3 separate regions of the Homo sapiens genome follow, and regions 1 and 2 are each linked to region 3. The links are contacts of gene promoters, found by promoter capture Hi-C in blood cells and fetal thymus (Javierre and others, 2016). All regions are on one chromosome and are shown on one strand. The core of a region is centred on a gene start or on the middle of the fragment in contact, and the rest is flanking DNA. Distances in the headings are between cores, read along the strand shown. Region 1 overlaps FBXL17 (F-box and leucine rich repeat protein 17). Region 2 holds the start of MAN2A1 (mannosidase alpha class 2A member 1). Region 3 holds the start of SRP19 (signal recognition particle 19).

Evidence for each region. The method cuts DNA at HindIII sites, captures the fragments that hold promoters and counts their contacts. A CHiCAGO score of 5 or more calls a contact.
Region 1: a fragment that was not itself captured here is called in contact with the fragment with the promoter of SRP19 in region 3 in 1 of 17 cell types (non-activated CD4 T cells); the score reaches 5.4 in non-activated CD4 T cells.
Region 2: the fragment with the promoter of MAN2A1 here is called in contact with the fragment with the promoter of SRP19 in region 3 in 1 of 17 cell types (fetal thymus); the score reaches 6.9 in fetal thymus.

What each region holds. Positions count from the first base shown.
Region 1 is chr5:108,369,400-108,372,549 of GRCh38, forward strand. All of the region lies in intron 1 of FBXL17 (F-box and leucine rich repeat protein 17), which reads right to left. Among named protein-coding and RNA genes, the nearest start is that of FBXL17, 11 kb to the right of the region's middle. The HindIII fragment of the contact is 2,402 bases long and covers 332-2,733 here.
Region 2 is chr5:109,687,929-109,691,176 of GRCh38, forward strand. MAN2A1 (mannosidase alpha class 2A member 1) reads left to right here and starts at 1,999. Exons shown (of 22, transcript NM_002372.4): 1 at 1,999-2,624. The coding sequence starts at 2,490. MAN2A1-DT (MAN2A1 divergent transcript) reads right to left here and starts at 3,171. Exons shown (of 1, transcript NR_186543.1): 1 at 1-3,171. RefSeq lists enhancers at 655-1,323, 1,083-1,182 and silencers at 1,293-1,582, 1,593-2,112, 2,143-2,352, 2,763-2,862. The HindIII fragment of the contact is 3,132 bases long and covers 856-3,248 here.
Region 3 is chr5:112,859,748-112,862,705 of GRCh38, forward strand. It overlaps SRP19 (signal recognition particle 19), which reads left to right and starts at 1,540. Exons shown (of 5, transcript NM_003135.3): 1 at 1,540-1,670; 2 at 2,761-2,836. The coding sequence starts at 1,630. RefSeq lists enhancers at 1,305-1,599, 1,358-1,437, 1,538-1,837. The HindIII fragment of the contact is 2,166 bases long and covers 1,389-2,958 here.

The sequences.
Region 1 (3,150 bases), core at 283-2,782, 4.5 Mb before region 3:
CACATGTTCTCAGGATCTCCTGAGGGCTGTGTCACAGGCCACTTATCACTCATATGTGGCTCAGAGTAAATCTCTTCAAATATTTTACAGAGTTTGACTGCTTTCGTCAACACTGGATAACGAATATAGGGGAAATCTCTGTACTATCATTGCAATTTTTCTATAAATCTGAATGTATTCCATGTCAAAACACCATATATTTTAAATATATAATATAAAAATAAAATTATTCCAAAATAAAATCTATTCTAAAAAATAATTTTTAAAAGTTACATCATAAAAAGATGGTTAGGGTCAGGATGAAGGCCAATACAAATCTTGGAAAATTAAAAGCTTTATCAACAAATACCATGTGTGGGCCACACTGAGATCCAGAATTGAACCAATTCTAAGAAGATACTTTTCAGACAATCAAATAAAACTGAATATAAAAGATATTAATTTAAAGGAATTATTAAATAAGATTAAACACTGAAACAAATGTGACCTATACATTTAAGAAAGATTAATAAAAACAAGTAAGATAATTATTTACCCAGTTATTCCAGTTCAGGGTTGCAGGTGACCAGAGGTCAGGGCACAAGGTAGGAACCAGCAATGGACAGGACACCAATGCACCACAGGGCACATGTACACTCACTCATACCGGGACCATCTAGACACATGCACACCTTATACAAAACCTAATGTACACAGCTTTGGGATGTGGGAGGAAACCAGAATACCCAGAGAAAATATGTGCAGGCATGGGGAGAACATGCAAACTCTACATAGACAGTGGGCCCAGCTACGAATTGTTTTGTTTTGTTTTTTTTCTCATTAACATTATAACACAATGATGTTGAACTAAAGGCTATTAGTCAAGGATTTGTTGTAATACATGATTTCAATTATAATTATTACCTAAAATGACTTACCTCTATATGGACAAAAGTTGTAAACATATAAGCTAGAATCTCTACTATGTTTAAATCTTGGGCCTCGGGAAAACAACTGCCTGTTACCTTCACAACCAGTTTTTCCTCCAACAAGTCTAGTGAGAAGTATAGAATATCATAAAAGTGGCAGGGCATGGTGGCTCATGCCTGTAATCCCAACACTTTGGGAGGCCGAGGCAGGTGGATCATGAGGTCACGAGTACAAGACCAGCCTGGCCAATATGGTGAAATCCCATCTCTACTAAAAATACAAAAATTAGACAGACATGGTGGCGCATGCCTGTAGTCCCAGTTACTCAGGAGGCTGAGGCAGGAGAATCATTTGAACCTGGAAGGCGAAGGTTGCAGTAAGCCAAGATTGCACCACTGCACTCCAGCCCGTGCAACAGAGCAAGACTCCTTCTCGGAAAAAAAAAAAAAAAATCATGAAAGTCACTAGCGAATTTGTCTCCCATGCCAGCAAACATGTATTAAGCCCACTACAGCCTTTTACTTGCAGGCATTACAACTAAAATATCTGGACAATATATTAAAAGCAATTGCCTCAAAACTCTAAAAAGTTAGTAACAAATGAATTGTGGAAGGGTGCCAAAATTTGAAGAATGGCCAATAACAAAGATGAGTTTCCTGGGTTTTTTTTTCTTTAATCCCCTAGTATGGAATTCAGGGTGGTCCCTGTACAGAAATGCACAGGAGGTAAAAATCAACAAAAATTCAGAGAAAAAGCTATCTTTCTGGACAAAGGACCAGGAAAATGGGCCTCTGCAAGACAGAGAATGTGAGAAGACTTGATTTTTGGTTTTCCTTTCTTCCCCTTTTCTCTTTTCTCCCTACTGGCTATGTCCCAAATGCTACGTCAGTAGCAGAGCTGCAATATAGACCCCAAAAGTAAACCCACCATTCTGGTCAGAAGAATTGGGGAAGAGAACTCTGTGGTCCAACAAGTAAACAAAGAATTCCCACTACTGTTTCTTAATTTTATCATAAAAGCAGCCCCAGTCATGCAAAACTACACAGCAGCACAGGTGGCTGTATCTCTGAGAGAAACTCCATCTTTCTAGCCAGATAACCAAATAAAGTTTTATTGGCACACAAAACATAAATGAATGTATACAACTATGTGCCAATAAAACACGATTTACAAAAACTGGCAGTGGATTTGGCCTGTGAAGGGCTACAGTTTGCTGGCCCATTCACAAGAAAAAAGGAAATGAAAAGAAACTGCCCATGAGAAAACCCAGACATTGGACTTACTAGACAAAGACAATAAATCAACAATTTAAGACATGCTCACAGAGCTAAAGAAAACCGTGGACAAAGAACTAAAGGAAATTATGAGAACCAAATAGAAATGTCTCACCAAATAGAGAATATTAATAAAAAGTAGAAATTATGAAAATAAATCAAATAAGAATTATAGAACTAAATTATACAGTAATGACATTTTAAAATTCACTACAGAGATTAAACAGATTAGAGCAAGTGGAAGTGTTATATAAATAAGCCAAAGATGACCTCTGTGTATTGGTTCCTAGGTTATTTCTTCACTGCAGGACGAGACTCATTAGCTCAAGAGCCCACTAGTACCAAACTCAAATTTTTACACATCCCATCATGCTGCTGAGTGACATCACCTAGACAGGTAAGCCTGCTCTCCAATTCTCCTGTTCCCCAGGGGTTGCCTTGCCCTCCTCCCCTTCTGTATGGCAGTCTACCTCGCTGTAAGCCTCTGCACAGCTTCATGCTGTAAAAGAAGTTTCCTCTCATATAATCCTGTCCAAGTGCCACCAAATGAAGCTTGTTGTGTGTTACCACTTCTTATAATCATATCTCTTTCTTGAGAAACATCAAAATCCCTTGAACCTCTACAAGAAGAAAGAATCAGCAAACCTAAAGATAGGTAAATTAAAATTACTGAGTCTGTGGACTGAAGGAAAATGAACATACATGTGGAACCCCACCAAACATACTAATATACATATAATTGGAGGCACAGAAGGAAAAGAGAGTGAAAGAGGCCTAAATATTTGAAGAAATAATGGCTAAAACTTTCCAAATCTGATGAAAGGCATGAATCTAGCTCATAAACTCAATGAATTCCAAGCAGGATAAATGCAAAAGGATTCATATCAAGATGCATCATAATCAAATTGTTGAAAGACAAAAACCGAGAGAACCCTGAAAGCAGCAAGAAAAATGCAACTCGTGAAAA
Region 2 (3,248 bases), core at 749-3,248, 3.2 Mb before region 3:
GGTTCTCATACCATAACTCTGAGAGTTAAAAAACCTGTGCTTGTCATTTCTCTTTATAACCACTCAAAAGCACGCAAAAGAATCCATCCCACACCAGTCTTTCTAGTCATCTTTATAACCATAGCAGTCAAGTGTAGCAGCCACTTGGGGCCCCAAGGCACAGGCTTCAGTTGGCACTTCATCAGGATCAACCACAGGTAATTGCTTAATTGAGATGCCCAGCATGTCATGAATTACATTTCCCTTTGGCAAGGAGCTAAAGCTCAAAACCTCAATCAAACTGACCTTTAATCCCATCTTTGCAGGTCTATTTCTTGGGACTACTCCCGGGACAGGGAAGGCTTAATAAAAAGAATTGTTAACTATAATAGAGGATTAGAGTAATGAAGGATTCACTAGCAAGAAGAGAACTTTAAAGAATATAGCAACAGCAGCTATAAGGAGCTAACCTTATAACTAACTCTTGGGTTGAGAGACAGAGTGCCCAATGAAGAACCTCCCCAATTCCTCCCAGGGCTAAGATCTAGACGTTTTTGGAGAGGGCATGACCTGGCTCACTGAATGGCAGAGAAGTCACCATTGGGCTACGTCTGCAAAGCTTGTGGAAGATGTGCCCTCTGCAACTTGCTGCAAATGCCTCTAGGGTGCCAGGGAAGTTATTCATGGGGTAGTGTCTCACCTCCTCTACAAAGCTCCTAGAGTTGGGCATGTGAGAGGAAATTGCTAGTTACTGAGCACTATAGGACCTTGGCAGTGGAGAAAGCCAGGTATGCTGCAAAAGCTTATCAATACACAGAAATCAGGAAGCAAAATCCTTTTTTTCTGTAATGTCTCTTCAGCGCCCTCTGCTGATAAAGCTTCAGTCCCAGAAGGCAAACGAAAAACTGTTTAAAAGGCTCAGATCCGTTTTTACAGTGCAGTCAAAAAGGGCGAATTTGGAGCTGAGAGGCAATAAATCAATAACTGGCAGAAGCATCACTTCTCAGATTACACTCATGGATTTCGTAGTCAGATGTTTCTACATGTGCCTGGACGGCCCTTTGTCAGTCTCCTTTCCCCCAGGTTTTAACAGGCTGTCACCAAAGGAGGAAATAGTGAGCCCGAAGAGAATGTGCAAGCCCTCTTCTCTTGCATTTCCTCCAGCCCGTCACCAAGTACTCTTCCAGGCACGCCAGGCCCGAGTGTCCTAGGATAGGAAACCTGAGCAACAAAGGGAAGTGGGGTGTAAGCTCAACCCCTGTTGGACGTGGGGGTGCTGGCGCCTGAACGCCCCCGAAGGCCTCAACTCCCAGAAAGCTGCCTGCCAGGTCACAAGAGCCCTGTGAGGTCTTCCTATCGCCGGGACACTGGGAGGCAGGCGCGGGGCGGGTCCGCCGGGCGACGCGCTGTGATTGGGCGCCGTGGGGCCCGCCCCCTCATCTCGGAGCGTCGGGAGGGGGCGGGGCCAGCCGCCCGCTCGGCTCAGGCGCTGCGGGCGCCTATTGACCCAGCGGCTGCTGCGCCGCCGCTGTCTCCTCCTGCTCGTGGCGGGCGGTGCTGGAGCGCCAAGTGGCGCTGGAGAACCGGCGCTTCCTTTCGCCGCTTCCGCCGCCATCTCCGCGTTTGTGGGGCGGGAAAGAGGGAGGGGGCTAGCGGCTGCAGCTGGAGCGGGCTTCTCTCCGGGGACGGTCCTTTCCTCCCTGCTCTCCTTTTCCTTCTTTCCGCGTTGCCGCCGCCCGCCCCCTGCGCCTCCCCGCGGAGCCTGGGTCCGGGAGGGGGAAGGTAGGGGCGGCGGGGGGCGGGAGAGTCTGGCGAGCGGACGCTAGCTCTGAGGAAACTCATCAATCCGTGAGCCCCGGAGTCCGGGGTGCACATCGGCCCAGCCGCAGCGTCGGCGGCGGCGGCGGCAGCAGCACGAAGGGGCTCAGTCGGGGTAGGCGGGGGCGGTGCCGGTGCCGCGGGGGCGGGCCCGACCGTCCCGCCCAGAAGTTGTAGGGCTTGGCTCCTCGCGATCTTGTTCCTTTCCCCTCCGCTTCTCTGACCTAGCTGCGCGGCCCCGGCCCGGGAGCTGCCGAACCCGCGCCTCCCCTGGGTGAGGAGGACACGCCTGCCCTCGTCGAGAAAACTTTTCCTGCCGACTCAGTTGGGGCGGCGGTGGCAGGAAGTGCGGGCAGCGACCTCTCCTCCGCCTGCCCCGCGCGCCCTGCCGGAGGTCGGCGCTGAGCTTGCGATCAAGTTTGTGGGGGCCCCCCTTCCCAGTTGCCGGCGAGTCTCGCCTCGAGAGGGGCGCCCGACCCCGGGGAGGGCGGCAGGCCAGGGCGAAGGCCAAGGGCGTGTGGTGGCGCCGGAGACTAGGTGCGGAGCAAGGCGGGGACTCGCACCCGCATCCGAGAGCGCGGAGGTCGCGCAGCCCGGGAGAAGGGAGCCTCCGGCGGCTGCTTCCTAGAGTCCACAGTGCGCTGTCTCCTTTGGCTGAGGAGAGTGTCCTGGCCCCGAGTCTATCGAGGAAAATGAAGTTAAGCCGCCAGTTCACCGTGTTCGGCAGTGCGATCTTCTGTGTGGTGATTTTCTCGCTCTACCTGATGCTGGACCGGGGTCACTTAGACTACCCCAGGAACCCGCGCCGCGAGGGCTCCTTCCCTCAGGTAAGCACCTGGGAAGGGGGCGCGGGGCTCCGAGGGGCCAGGCGTGCGGGCCCCTGGTTAGCGGCTGCTACCCAACCTCTTCCTCCCGCCGCGGCCCCACACCCGTGCTGGGCGAGGCCAGGGGCTCTGTAGCTCTCGGACGGCAATGATCACCTCCTGGGAGCCACCTCGCCCGGGCGCGCCAAGTTAACAAAGTGCTGGGCGGCGTGCGGCGGCGGCGGCGGCATCATCCCGCTCAGGAAAGTGGCCATGTTCCGGCATTCGCACCCGGCCTGTTGGGGTGGCTTCGGGCACCTGCTGGCGGGGGAACGGGCGCGGCGTGAGGCACCCCCCGCCAGCCCGGGGCCCGCGTATCCCGGTGGGGTCGTTCTCGGCTCTCACAGGGTTAAGCCGCCCGCACCAGCCCAGAGCCCCTGAGCGCACGGAGTCGCGGAAATGGATCAAACCGAACCCACCTAGGCTTTTTTTTCTTTTTCTTCCCCGCTGCCTCTGAAGAGAGAGAAGTTTATTTCGTGTTGCGGCCCTTTTAGATGTGAATCTCTAGGTTGATTTTAGTGTCGTCATTCTTCAGCTATTACATCTGGTTTGTTTGTGGCAGACAGGGGGAACCGAGTGGGGAAGCGC
Region 3 (2,958 bases), core at 290-2,789:
CCATTGTAGGGTTACTAACTGGCCTAATTTCAACATTGTTGTGTTTCAGGGAATAGGGACTCCAGAAGAGGGAGAGAGATGGGAAATGGCCAGTTGGTCGAACAGTTAAAACATACACAACATTTATCCATTAAGTTCCCCATCTTATCTGGGCATGGTTCATGGTGCCCCAAAACATTATTATTATTTGAGACGGAGTCTTGCACTGTCGCCAGGCTGGAGTGCAGTGGTGTGATCTTGGCTCACTGCAACCTCCACCTCCTGGGTTCAAGAGATTCCCCTGCCTCCCGAGTAGCTGGGACTAAAGGCCTGTGCCACCATGCCTGGCTTATTTTTTATATTTTAGTAGAGATGGGGTTTCACCATGTTGGCCAAGATGGTGTCTATCTCCTGACCTCGTGATCCACCTGCCTCGGCCTCCCAAAGTGCTGGGATTACAGGCGTGAGCCACCGCACCCGGCCTTAAAACTATTACAATAGTAACAGCAAACATCACTGATCACCGATCACCATAACAGAAATAATGAAAAGGTTTGAAATATTGCAAAAATTACCAAATGTGACACAAAGTATACGCTGCTGGAAAAATGGCACCAAGCAACTTCTTTCAGGCGGATTTGCCAAAAACCTTCCATTTGTAAAAAGGCAGTATCTACTCGCAGCAGCAAGTGAAGTGCAATAATGAAGTATGCCTGTAGTGATGGCACATGGTATCCTTCAGAAGTTTTAAAAGGTGAATAGTTTTGTTTCGTTTTTCCTAGACGGAGTCTTGCTCTGTTACGCAGGCTGGAGTGCAGTGGTGTGATCTCAGCTCACTGCAACCTCCACCTCCTGGGTTCAAGTGATTCTCCTGTCTCAGCCTCCGAGTAGCTGGGATTACAGGCGTGTGCCACCACACTCGGCTAATTTTTGTATTTTTAGTACAGACGGGGTTTCAGCATGTTGGCCAGGCTGCTCTCCAACTCCTGACCTCATGATCCACCTGCCTCAGTCTCCCAAAGTGCTGGGATACAGGCGTGAGCCACCGCACCCGGCCTAAAAGGTGAATAGCTAAGTTTCTAACGCAGAGCACACTGAAACACAACGTCTATAACTTTGCTAGTTCTACCACTACAAAAATCCATTTTGCCAAACTGAAAGCAAGCTCTAGAGCCCAGGAACGGAGAAAAATTAAACGTAAGGAGTATTTCCTTCCCTGTCTAACATATATTTGCATCCTGAACCACACAGATTCCCCTCGTGGCACAGTCTTCGCCCCTTAACAGAGAGTAGCTAGTACCACCCATACTCGCTGAGAAACTGGAAACGAGGGAGGGTCGAAGTTAAACCCTTTTTAGTGGCGGTGCATGCGCCCCACATGGTCTTCCCGGCTTGGGAAAGGAATGAGAAGCTTTCATGATTCTCTCGCGAGAAGGGAAGTCTTCATGCCACGTCAGAGACTAGAGATCCTGGCGCCGAGCGACAGGTGCCGGAACAAACAGGCGATGAGAAATCGCGGACGCGGAACCATTTCTTGGGCAGGACTTCCGGCGGAAAAGCGGGCTGTCTCGGAAACTCAGAGCCGGGTTCCTCCCGGGTTTCTGCCGGGTTTCTCCCTGCGGCTCCTGGGTTGTTGAGACTCTTGTGAAGATGGCTTGCGCTGCCGCGCGGTCCCCGGCCGACCAGGACAGGTGGGTTCTGAGGCGGTGGGTCCTCCGAAAGGAAGGGGCTTGCTGTGGTGCTGCAGGTGCTACACCGCGCTTCTCCGCTCCGCGGCCTCCAGAATGGCCTAGCTGATCCAACTCGCTCTGTACGGGCCCCGCGCCTCTCCCTGGCAGCTCGTTTTTCTGAATCCTGCAGCAGCCACCAGGCTCTTCTCAGGGCTCCTGAAATTCCGACCATAGGTAGCCTAGTGTTTATCTGTACGCGAGACAAGGATTTTGGGTGCTACGTGGACATGATATCAAGTAATATAATCACAGTGTGAGAAATGTGTTCTTTTTAAGTATTGTTGCGTTCAGAAAGGCTCATTTGTGAAATTTTAAGGTTTTTAATACCTCGGACACTTTATATAAGAGGGCGGGCCCATTCTCAGGAACTTTTGACGGGCTGCTCTGTCTAATGTAACAGTTACCCAAGTCGTTTTGTTTCTATTCCTGTGGTTTTTTTCCATCCAAGGTAGTGGATAAAGTTTATTTTTAAATAAGTTAAAGTGAGGTAATTTAAAGAAATAACATTAAGCAAATAATAGCATAGGTGTACCAGCAATGATGACGACTACCACGGACCGAAAGAATGTATTTTTGAAAATACTTGTTATCTGTTGAGTGTAGTTGTCCAGGTTCTTGGCGTTTTGAATAAGGAATTGAACAAAACACACAAAGCAAGGCAGCGAAAGCAGATTTATTTTAAACAAAAGTACACTCCACAGGGTGGGAGCCGGCTCCAGCAAGCTACCCAAGAGCTGTTGGTTACAGAATTTTCTAGGGTTTAAATACCCTCTAGACGTTTCCCATTGACCTGTGCCAGTCTGATTGGTTGAGGGAGGGGGATCAATCAGAAAGAGGAGTAGGCCCGCGGCCAGTCTGATTAGTTGCTCGAGGGGACCACTCCGAGGTACTTTGATTTTTCAACTGCCACGCAGAAAAAGGAGGGGTTGAAAAGGGAGTACCCATCTGATATCTAGGCAGCATGAATTGGCCTTTGGTTCCCTGCCACCCGACCCTTTTCTCCTGCCTCTTACTGCTCTAGTGATACCACTTATGCTATTGTCTATGGCAGGTTTATTTGTATCTATCCTGCTTATTTAAATAATAAGAAGACCATCGCAGAGGGAAGGCGAATCCCCATAAGTAAGGTAAGCAAGATGGCTGGCACCTTGATCCTCGAGGGAATGGGGGGTGTCATCCTGGTCGGGCCACGTAATCTTGTTAGAGCCGCAGGGGGTTCTCTTCACTGCATTTATTTAGGGCTTGAGAA